4 separate regions of the Homo sapiens genome follow, and all the other regions are linked to region 1. Evidence: promoter capture Hi-C in 16 types of primary human blood cells and fetal thymus (Javierre and others, 2016). All regions are on one chromosome and are shown on one strand. Each heading gives the region's core, a stretch centred on a gene start or on the middle of the fragment in contact. The rest is flanking DNA. Distances are from core to core; before and after follow the strand shown. Region 1 holds the start of ABCA13 (ATP binding cassette subfamily A member 13). Region 2 overlaps ABCA13 (ATP binding cassette subfamily A member 13). Region 3 overlaps ABCA13 (ATP binding cassette subfamily A member 13). Region 4 overlaps PKD1L1 (polycystin 1 like 1, transient receptor potential channel interacting).

The links. The method cuts DNA at HindIII sites, captures the fragments that hold promoters and counts their contacts. A CHiCAGO score of 5 or more calls a contact.
Region 2: a fragment that was not itself captured here is called in contact with the fragment with the promoter of ABCA13 in region 1 in 1 of 17 cell types (neutrophils); the score reaches 7.4 in neutrophils.
Region 3: a contact is called between a fragment that was not itself captured here and the fragment with the promoter of ABCA13 in region 1, in 1 of 17 cell types (neutrophils). The highest score is 5.4, in neutrophils.
Region 4: a contact is called between a fragment that was not itself captured here and the fragment with the promoter of ABCA13 in region 1, in 6 of 17 cell types (activated CD4 T cells, non-activated CD4 T cells, naive CD4 T cells and 3 more). The highest score is 8.3, in activated CD4 T cells.

The regions. Positions count from the first base shown.
Region 1 is chr7:48,169,972-48,172,806 of GRCh38, reverse strand. It overlaps ABCA13 (ATP binding cassette subfamily A member 13), which reads right to left and starts at 1,349. Exons shown (of 62, transcript NM_152701.5): 1 at 1,255-1,349. The coding sequence starts at 1,323. The HindIII fragment of the contact is 8,502 bases long and covers 1-2,835 here.
Region 2 is chr7:48,643,203-48,646,037 of GRCh38, reverse strand. ABCA13 (ATP binding cassette subfamily A member 13) reads right to left here. Exons shown (of 62, transcript NM_152701.5): 60 at 2,645-2,750; 61 at 1,284-1,421; 62 at 1-621. The coding sequence ends at 526. Among named protein-coding and RNA genes, the nearest start is that of LINC02838, 64 kb to the left of the region's middle. The HindIII fragment of the contact is 2,655 bases long and covers 19-2,673 here.
Region 3 is chr7:48,623,771-48,626,605 of GRCh38, reverse strand. The region is part of intron 59 of ABCA13 (ATP binding cassette subfamily A member 13); the gene reads right to left. Among named protein-coding and RNA genes, the nearest start is that of LINC02838, 83 kb to the left of the region's middle. The HindIII fragment of the contact is 4,277 bases long and covers 1-2,835 here.
Region 4 is chr7:47,910,919-47,913,753 of GRCh38, reverse strand. The region is part of intron 8 of PKD1L1 (polycystin 1 like 1, transient receptor potential channel interacting); the gene reads left to right. Among named protein-coding and RNA genes, the nearest start is that of PKD1L1, 36 kb to the left of the region's middle. The HindIII fragment of the contact is 1,845 bases long and covers 531-2,375 here.

The DNA of each region.
Region 1 (2,835 bases), core at 100-2,599:
TTTTTTTTTGAGACGGAGTCTCGCTCTGTCGCCCAGGCTGGAGTGCAGTGGCGCGATCTCGGCTCACTGCAAGCTCCGCCTCCCGGGTTCACGCCATTCTCCTGCCTCAGCCTCCCGCGTAGCTGGGACTACAGACGTCCGCCACCACACCCGGCTAATTTTTTTGTGTTTTTTTAGTAGAGACGGGGTTTCACTGTGTTAGCCAGGATGGTCTCGATCTCCTGACCTCGTGATCCGCCCGCCTCGGCCTCCCAAAGTGCTGGGATTACAGGCGTGAGCCACCGCGCCCGGCCAACTTAAAACTTTTGTACAAACTTTCAACTGAAATTATTTTGATCCTAAAGATCACATAAAAAAGAAAACATCTCCTTTAACTTGTATTTTATTTCAAGACAGAGAGATAGAATATTCTGGCTCGGAGGATTCAGCAAAATGTAATTCAATGTCAATTACTGAATCTCTTCAAACCAAAGCATTTGTCAGCAGAAAATTCCCATAGGTTAACTGTAGACCTTAAAATCAGAAACGATGCAGGTAAATTACTGCACATCTACTTCTCCTGAAAATGACATTTATAGGTATTAATGTTTATATAGTGGCATCAGGAATAAAGTTAGTCATAATAACAAGCAATTGATTTCTATTTCACAAAAACGTACACTTACAGGATATTTGCATAAGTATTCACACAAGTTTCATTTGAACAATTCCAATCTCCTTAGGAAAACCTTGCTAATGTAATTTGAATACAGTTCTAAATAGATGTGAATTAACACTAAAGATGGTGACCCTACAGAATAACAGAGTGGATGTGTCATACCCTGCTCTGGTGAGGCACACTGTGCAGTCTTGTGCTTCGGAGTCAGTACCTGTAGCATTCTGCTTATGCATTAAATGCAGCAAATGCTTTGTTCCTTAAACCTGAGAATTCACTGTTCAGTTTTTACAACGAATGCTTAGAACACAAATTATAGTTCAATTCCACCTGCTTTTTTGTTTGTTTGTTTTTAGAATTTTTCTAAATTTGCCCTTTTCTGATAAATTCTTCAGCCTTGATTTCATCCTGGTCATTAAAGTGTTCAGCTACTTTGGCCCTTGGGACGGGTTTTGATTTAAAATAATCCAACCTCCCCAAATTCCCTGCAGCATGAGTGTTTTTACCTGCCAGGAGGCAGAGGCAGGCAGGAAAGAATAGACCCTGATCTTGCTCCAGACCTCACTGGAACCCTATGGAAAACCAAGGCAAGCACTCACCGGGTTCCTGAGTCTGCAGAGCCAATTCTTCCACAGCAGGGCTTTGAACTGGCACCCGGCATGCCCCATGCCTGCTGCTCCCTGCTCTCAGTCAGGAAGCCAGCCTGTAAGGATGGTGCTTATATCTGCTGGGCTCAAGTGAAGGCATGTTGCCTATTAGTCAATTCTAACAAAAGTGAGTGATGCAAGAGAGATTACTGGTGACTGAATAAAACAGGCATCAGATGTCCCCTCTTGTTCGGCATCTGCTGAGAAATCTTTTCACTAGCTGTTCAGTGTTTCAGGAGGGTTGAATTACAGAAAGCTGCCTTCAGGGACTTTCTCGGGCATACACACATACACAGAGAGGGTGCCCTCCCTTTCCGAGAACCCACAGAACTGATCTGTGCGACAAGAAGTAATGCCCACATTTACCATTTACCTCCCTTTTTTTCTGGATATTAATTAGATGGAATTTTCCTTTTTTCTTCTGAAGCATTGGTTATTACACAAATTTGCCAAAATATTTCAATTTTGGTGGTCCCATGGCAGAGAGTTTGAAGGGAAGGAGATGGAAGCAGTGTTGGTGTCTGGGGGAGTTTGGGGAATGGGTGACTCAAGTTCCACTCTGCTACTGCACCTGCACTTCATACTTCTCCTTCACCCATTTCCTCCAAAGGGATCAGGATCTACGTTTCAAATGGTATCGGGTGCAGATGTGGCAGGACTCAGCAAGTGGCCTGTGGATTACCTCTGAGTCCTGTTTGATTCCTGAACACTTGCACTTTCTAAGTGGCATGATGGATTCAGCTTGCCAGCTGGTGGCTCCATCGTCTTGGAAGCCAGGCCCTCTTGAGTTCCTGTTGCCCCCAGTTGTGGTCAGAAGGATTTCAGGCAACCCAGTCTTGTGGTCTTCTATTTCATAAAGCAATTTTCACAAGCTGTGAATGCTTGATAAATGGCTTTTGCAATAGGAAACAGGGAACACAGGCTTCAGCAAAGAAACTGACTCAATTATTTTGTAAACTTATTTGTTTAGAGCATGCCTATTTTATTTTATTTTTTGTTACATGGCTGGCAGCACTAGAGTGAAGGCCATTACTTAGCAGGATGGCGCCCAGCAACCATAAGTGGATTTGCCTGATCCCCATATGATGTTCCCCCTTGACCTGTGACTTCTCAAAGGTCTTTGGGGTTGCCTAAGTATTGCTACTCTGGTTCTCTTTGCAGATAACATCTAGAACACCTTACAAGTAATTGTCATAATTTTTAAAAATCTAGTATAAGAAAAAGCCTCCAACCATAAGGTTTTTCTCATGTTATGTTCATAGCAGCCAGTTTTTATGCTGCTATGCCAGAATTATGTCAGAGACACAAAAATTATCTCATCCATTGCTTTCATGGAACAATGCTGTGTTAGGATTTTCAGATAAACAGAACCAATGGGTGATTCATTGATCGATTGATTGATTGATTATAAGGAATAGGCTCACACAGTCATGGAGGTGGGCAAGTCCTAAGATCTGCAAGGTGAATTAGCAAGTCAGAGACCCAAGGAAGCCAATGATATAGTTCCAGTCCGAGTCCAAAGACCTGAGAACA
Region 2 (2,835 bases), core at 97-2,596, 470 kb before region 1:
TCAGTATTAATAAAAGCTTACATTAAAATCATTAAAAACATGTATCTAGTAAATAGATGACAACAATAGAAAATAGTCCTTGTTACTATTTTCTATACAAACAAGTTACTAAAGTTTTTTAACCTGTGGGGAGGGGGCTCAGTTTTCTTAACAGAAAAGTGACATGTTTAGAGTGGACATGTCACACACACTCTAGTGTGACAGGCTTTCCAGCTCCAGAATGTCTCAGTTTGGACACTGTCAAATCATTCATGCCTTTGTCACAAAGAAGCTGGTGTCCATCTGGCATGGTAAAGAGAACAAATGTTTTGGAGGAGCTCCCCAAAAGTCTGCAGAAAGAATGACCTTTCCATTTGGTGGTTATTAACTAACAAGGAGATTCAAAATAGAAAATGAACAAGAGAATAATTTGACGGCCTGGAGAGTGTGTTCCAGCTCCTTGATTGTGCGCGTGCTTGTTTTATCCTTGACTGTTAATTGTAATGGAAGACAAGGTTTTATTCCTTATGGAAACTTCTTTAGTGCTCAGATGGGCAAGTGATGTGTGTGGTGACTGTCAGTGGATGGATCAAGAGTAGATTGTAGAGTTTGCTGCTGCTCAGAAGCAAAATTAATAAATACCTGAAAAAAACCATAAAAATGTTGTTTACTTATAAGAATACAACCCTTTGGTCTCACTTATTAGAAAGGAGACATTGTCTCAGAACACTGGCCAACTTGCCCTAAAAACCACAGATCATTAATTCATACCATTCCCTCCCAAATCACATAAATATATAAATCCATTGAGGACACAACTCTAAGAACATTCATATTTCTAGACAATTATAATAATAAATCACCTAGAAGTTCTCAATACCTTAAGCCTGGTTTTAGAAATATGTCGTGATGTATTTTTATATTCCTGGTACTCTTAGTAAATGAAACGCTTTTTGTTTCCCCAGAAGTTAGCTATCATTTGATTACAGTGAAGCCCCCCCGAAAAGTCTTGTGGGGCTGAGTAAGGTGGAGATAGGAAGGTTAACGTGACATGATTTAATTAGTTAAATGCCCAAAATAATATGAACAAATTGAAACTCTACTGAATATCTATCTTAAGTAGAAGGGTATACAGTAAACAAACTTTCTGACACTCACCATCCTTATCATAATTTTATAAAATTTAACAAGATGAATTGAATAAAGTGGTGAATTGAAGCAATTCGATTAATTTTAAAATTGGCTACATTAGGTCTGATGAACAGACCAAAATTCAACCTCCTGAATCATTCAAGATACTATACCTGCTCCAAAGTGGTTTGGTTAATGGAATAATGCTTAATATTCAAGAAGGTTTTATTGTTCTCTATAACTTTGAACAAGTCAGCTAGGCATCCCCATCTTTTTGGCACATGATATTCTAATAAATTCAGGTGCTGTCCCTAAAAGCAAAAAAAAAAAAAAAAAAAGTATCATATAACTAGCATTATTAAACAAAATTGATCATACTACATTTAATTGGCAAAAAAATTCAGTTACGTTTTCTCAACCTACACTTAATTTTGTGAGTCTCCAATGAATGCTTATTGATGACAATTTTTCATGGGGTATATTTGACAAACAACGTTCAACTGAGTGGCATTGCTGTTCTGCCCCCTGATATGCTCTAACCTTGCAACAGCATGGGGAAGCCCTGTTTAAGGAATCATAAGATGCCCAAAGATATTTGAAATGTAGGAATTTAACATGGCCTAACAGAGACGGATGGAAGGGCCCTGAGTTTTACACTGGGACTTGGGCTTATCTCTCACTATTCTCATCATTAGCTGAGCAACACTTGGGAAGATATTTAAACCTCTGATCCTTGTCTTCATGTATGCCAATGGAGATAATTATGTCTGTTTTATAGGGTGACTCAGAGTCATAATTGAGCATGAATGACAGTCTCACACAGCATGCTTCTTGCATAGTAGGATTTCACTAAATGACAGTTGTTGAAATAAATAGAACATAACTACTTTATGGACTACAGCCTCCTAGAAGTTATAATAAACTAGCATCCCACAGTTATCCAAGAGATTTTTAGACAGTGCTTCTCAAACTTCAGTGTTCATAGGAATCTCCGGGTCACCTTGTTAAAATGCAGATTCCCATTCAATAGGTTGGGGCCTGTGATTCTGCATGTCTAACAGGTCCCAGGCAATGAAGATGCTGCTGGTTCAGTGACCATACTTGATGACAGCAAGTTTATAGAGGATTGTGATCTCAAGCATAGGGCTATTTCTGTGAAGCAATGCTGAAACCATCAAGCCTATAAACCCTACAGCAAATATATGGAAGAGATTAGCTTTTGCAATCTTCTATGCTGAACAAGATGAGTTATGCAATGGACCTGTGCCCACAGATAAGAGGCGTGATATGTAATCACAGGCTGCTCTGGCCAATCCAGGAAGCAATTAAGCAGGCTTGTCACTCTTCAGAGTGGTCAAGCAATATCAGCTATCCATGCTATTTTTGGTAGGGAGGCAGGGCCTATACTTTGCAATGTGGCTAAGGTAACAAGTAGTATCTTATAACAGCATAGAATAAAAACAAAAAAAGACAGGTACATTTATTATTTTTTTTTAGCTGAAAACAAAGAAATAATACAAGATATTAGCACTACCTTGAACTGAATTCCTGGAAAATAAAGCTTCAAGTGGTCAGAAACAGTGCAATGTTGATTTGCTTCCTTACAGAGCCAAACTTTGACTGTATAACCATCACCAAACCTGAGAGTTAAATAAAATAGAAACATGATTATTATCATATTGACCTAAGATGAGTAAATTCTAAGTCCATTTTCACACAGAGGGA
Region 3 (2,835 bases), core at 171-2,670, 450 kb before region 1:
CTTCCTACTAGAGAACAAAAATTTCTGTTTAATAGGCCAGTTATTCTCCTGTTTCTTTTTGCTTCCCTTTGTTCCTCCATTATTTTGCCTTTTTTTTACCTTAGAATTAATATTTCCCATAATTTGGTCCCAAAGATTCCCTTCAAGTTTATGCCGCATGATTCCACCTGTATTCCACTTGCCATCAAGCTATTTCAAACATGGTTTACATTGTTCATCTCTGTGCCACTACCTCTAATGCATTCATAGTTGATTAGCTGGCTAAGCATACACGTGATTTAAATTCCTCCTCACCCATAAAACTACCTGTGCCAATCCTTCCCCTAAAACAATGTGTGTGCATTCTTCCTCCTCCTAACTCCTACCTCATGGGCTTTGAAACCTTCTTGTCGTGCTAATGGTCTTTCTTACATAATTTTTTTATTTGAGTGTCTAGCCCAGTTCTTACAGGGCTCATGCCTTATTACCCACTCAATCCCAAGACCCTGGCACTATGTAAACATTCAGTAATGTTTGCAGGTTTAAACTGAGATGCACAACACAGCATTTCGTTCACCAGTCTCTTAGAACAATTATCATATTGTGTTGTATTCATTGTTATGTTTCTGCCTGTACACTATGCCGAGTTTATTGAGATTAGGAATCACATTTTCATCATCTCTAATTAAGTGGTTACTCAATAAATGTGTATGAATGAACAGGACTCATGATGTGAGTCTGAGTCCCCAACAACTTCACCCATCTAAAAATATCTCCAACACTTCTATTTTCCATCTTCATTGTGAGTGAAAAGCATTCTGTTTATTCTTACAGAAAATATTAAAAAATGAATGCCGAATGTTTACTTTTGATAAAGTGACAGCTCTGGGTGATACTGTTCATGACCTGAATTTCCAAGACCAGAGGCAGCTAACCAAAATGTCCAGCATGAGAATGGCATGAGAATCAGAAAGTCTTCCCAGCTAATTATGTCAGAGCAATGCTGTGTTCATACAACATGATGTTGTGACAACAAATGAGATGACAAATTACACATAGCAGGTGAGGTGAAACACGCTGAGGATATGGAGGTGCACTATCTCTCTTAAAATCATTTCTAGTAAAGAGAATTAATTCAGTGGTTAGTAGCAGCAGGTGAATTATATGATGCTTTAAACTAAAGTAAAATATAGAAAAATATAACTCAGTAGCACATCATTCCATAGTTCCACATCATGGCAGAAATTATTTTTGTGCTCATGTGCAAACTTCCTTCCCCATTTGTGAAAGTGACATAAACATACTGAATTATCTATTTCACTTTTAAATGATCCACTTCATTATGTGGTGATGCAATCTTAATCCGAGATGTTATGATTATAGTAATGGTTTATAGATATATTAAGTCAAAGTTGCCACACTAAAGCATATGGTGTCACATAAGGTGATACATTAATTTGCAGCTACTCAGACAGTGGTAGCTTGAGAGCTCAAACAAGATTCTGCCTCCTTTCATTTTTTTTAGGAAAAAAATCCACAAACAAACCCTTCTACACTATTCTTTATATTTTAACTTAGATGGCTATATAACACATCTATGATGGGATCCTTTGAACTTTATTCTACTTTTATTCTTGGTTCTCAAAGTTTACAGTTGATAACTCAAGGAAATGTAAATTCTCATAATCTTAACAATTTTCTTTAAATCATTTGAAGCTGTGTTTTCTTTATAAAAAATAAAAAAGAAAGAAAGAAAGAAAAACAAACAAACAGGCTGGGTGCCTTGAGTCACACCTGTAATCCCAGCACTTTGGGAGACTGAGGCGGGCAGATCACCTGAGGTCAGGAGTTCAAGACCTGCCTGACCAACATGGTGAAACCTCATCTCTACTAAAAATACAAAATTAGCTGGGCATGGTGGTGCATGCCTGTAATCCCAGCTACTTGGGAGGCTAAGGCAGGAGAATCGCTTGAACCTGGGACAGAGAGGTTGCAGTGAGCCGAGATCGTGTCATTGCACTCGCACACCAGCCTGGGCAACAAGAGCAAAACTCTGTCTAAAAAAAAAAAAAGAAAAAAGAAAACAACAACAACGACAACAAAATACACAGCCTTTATCCTCCCTCACCCCAAAATCATAAATTGGCCTGGAGTATTTCACATTGTAAACTCTGTGCTTCAGAAGCATGTTTTATTTCCTTTCCATGACAGGAGTGTTTTTACCAAGTCAGACTTAAGCCTCCTATGTCAATCAGGTTCAAGGGAGGAGAAAAGCAAATAGATGCCGCATGCAGCTGTTAATGGTTCCCTCCAGGTAAGTTGGGAATATGCTCAGTGTCTGCAAGTACAAAGGCAGCTAGCTACCAGGGCACCATTATGTGCTCAATTTATGACATGCAGAGGATTTGAGGATGCATCCCTAATTGCCTGGGACAAAACATCAGTGCCCAAAAGGATAGTTTTAGCCACCTGTGGCTATTAGGTGAGTGCCACTCCACTCCAGCTCTCCTCTGTTATTAACTGAGCCACACACACACACACACACACACACACACACACACACACACTCTATCATGTGCTCACACGTAAACTCATGAATCTCTATACCATATAGGGCTCTTTCATAGCATATGACAATCTTAAATTGAAAGCCCAAGAGTCCGTTCAGCTCAGCTGCTCAACCTAACGACCTACCCTCAATGGAGGAAAAGAATCCAGTCAGGTGAATAAGTGAGGCTGCAGGCTTCCCACTCCACAACCATGATCCCTATCTTCCTTGGGAACAGAAACCTAACCTTATTTAAGTAGCAAAGTGCCCAGCTAGAGTCTACATTTCTTAGACTTCTTTGTAGCCAG
Region 4 (2,835 bases), core at 204-2,703, 260 kb after region 1:
GATTTAATTGGCTCACAGTTCTGCAGACTGTATAGGAAACATTGATGTGGGCATCTGCTCAGCTTCCGGGGAAGCCTCAGGAAACTTACAATCATGGCAGAAAGCGAACAGGGAACACACACGTTACATAGCCGGAGTAGGAGCAAGAGGGGGGGAGGTGCCACACACTTTTAAAAGACCAGATCTCATGAGAACTCACTATCATGAGGACAGTACCAAGTGGCAGGGATTGGGGGTGACACTAAACCATTCATGAGAAATCTGCCACCATCATCCAATCACCACCCACCTCCTCACCGCCAGTGCTGAAGGCCCAACCTTCAATACTGGGGAATGCAATTCGACATGAGATTTGGTGGGGGCACAGATCCAAATCATATCAACCTGCTTTCCCACATTAGTCTTAGTTCCGGTTCTAGAGCTAATATATTCGGTCCTCACTCAGCTTTTTTTTGGCATGGTGTTCCTGTTTGGTTGTCTGAAGTTTGTCCTCTAGTAGATTTTTTTTAGGAAAATTCATGCAATAAGCTTCCTCTAAGTTCCCATATTCAAAACTGTTGCTGCCATTATGTTGGAACGACAGTGTGCTGGCTCTGGACTCCTTGGACACATGTTCTTTTCCTGGGGAATCTGGTTGTCTTTCCATTCTGTTCTCTCCTGTAACCATGGTTCTCCAAGTTTGGCCCAGCAGCATCATGACCACCTGAGACTGGCTTAGAATACAGACTCTCAGGCCCACTGCAGACCTACTGAATCAGAAATTCAGCTGGTGGCCCTGACACTCTGTCTGAAGAAGCCTCCCTGAAATTCTCCATTCTGTCTTTCTTACCTTGTGGTGATTCCAAAGTCAGCCTTCTTTTTTCCCCGTCATTGATTAATGTTTTTCTGTGATTGTCATGAGAATTATTTCTTTTCTTTTTTTTTTTTTTTTTTTTTTTGAGACACAGTCTCACTCTGTTGCCCAGGCTGGAGTACAGTGGCATGATCTCGGCTCACTGCAACCTCCATCTCCTGGGTTCAAGTGATTCTCATGCCTCAGCCTCCCAGGTAGCTAGGATTACAGGCATACACCACCACGCCTGGCTGATTTTTGTATTTTTAGTAGAGATGGCATTTCACCATGAAGGCCAGGCCAGGCTCAAACTCCTGACCTCAAGCGATCCACCCGCCTCAGCCTCCCAAAGTGCTAGGATCACAGGTCTGAGCCACCGTGCCCAGCCGGTAGTTATTTCTTTATTTGCAACTCCAGCAGCTTTGCCAGCACGTGTCTAAGTGCTGGCCACTCTGGGTCACCTTTCTCCAGCACATGGTGTACCTTTTCAATGTGTCCTTTGTTTCAGGAAAGATTTCTTGAATTAGATCTTTACATTGTTTCTATTCCAATATGTCAGCTTTCTTTTTGGGAGACTGGCATACATCTATTAGTTCTCTTTTGTCTTTTCAAATCTTTTTTGTTTTTCCTTTTTCATCTGATCCGCTTTCCTCATATTTTCCTCTGCATCCCTTCTTTTGTGTTCTACACTTTCCATTCTCCATTATACTCTAAAATGTTGACTTTGTTTCCTTCCAAGACCAGATGCTCTCTGGTCTTCCATCTCAGAAGATAACGATTCCTCAAGTTGTTCAGTCCTGTTCTTGTGGACAGTGTTTTTCTGATAAATTATCTTAATCTATTATGAGTATTTCCTGAATTTTCCCTCTTGACTCTTATAGTATCTTGTACATGCTGAATGGTCTTTTCTCCCTCCTTTTCTCCCTTTATCCTTCCCTCCCTTCTTCTTTCCTGCCTTCCTTCCTTTCTTCCTTCCTTTCTTTTTTTTTTTTTCTTCACAGCATTACTCATAATTTAAAGAGTTGCATTTTTTTCTGAACTAACTGCTGGTGGAGTGTGTGTGTGTGTGTTGCGTACACACATGTATGCGTGTTGATGATATTCACAGCCACTGAGCCCTTTGGCAACTGAGTTCTCACTTTAGGACGTTTTCTGTTTTCTTCCTTCAATACGGTTCCTGCTCATGCATGCTTGATATTTGCCGCTTTTAGCAGTTTTTGCGTCTATTTTGTATTCTGAACATGCTAGCTACCTCCTAGTTTCACTAAACAAAGAGAGAAAAAGTTTTTATTTTTATTCACTGTTTTCCTTTTTGTTTTTGGATTAACTCCTAGAAGATTAAGTAGAAGGCTAAGTATATCTCTATTTCACATCAGGACTTGCTCTATTATAATAATTTTAAGCATCTGCAACTTTGATACATATTCATTGGTTTCTTTTGTTGTTTTATGAATAAAGTAAGGAATTGGTATTTGTATTAGGCCATTCTCCAATTGCTATAAAGAAATACTTCAAACTAGGTAACTTATAAAGAAAAGAAGCTTAATTGGCTCACGGTTCTGCAGGTTTTACAGTAAGCACGGGTGCCGACATTTGCTTAGCTTCTGGGGAGGCTTCAGGAAGTTTACAATCATGGTAGAAGGCTACAGGGCAGCAGGCACAGCACACAGTAAAAGCAGAAATGAGAGAGAGTGAGATGCCACACACTTTTAAATAGCCAGATTTCAAGAGAAGTCACTCACTATCGCAAGGACACCACCAAAGGATGGTACTAAACCATTCATGAGGAATCCACTCCCATCATCCAGTCACCTCCCGCCAAGCTCTACCTCCAACTTTGGGTATTACAATTCGACACATTAGATTAGGGAGAGGTAAACATCCGAACTATATCAGTATTACATCTTTTATCAGGGGTTAAGTCTAAAGTCAACTTGAGGCTAGGTGCAGTGGTTCATGCCTGTAATCCCAGCACTTTGGGAGGCTGAGGTGGATCACCTGAG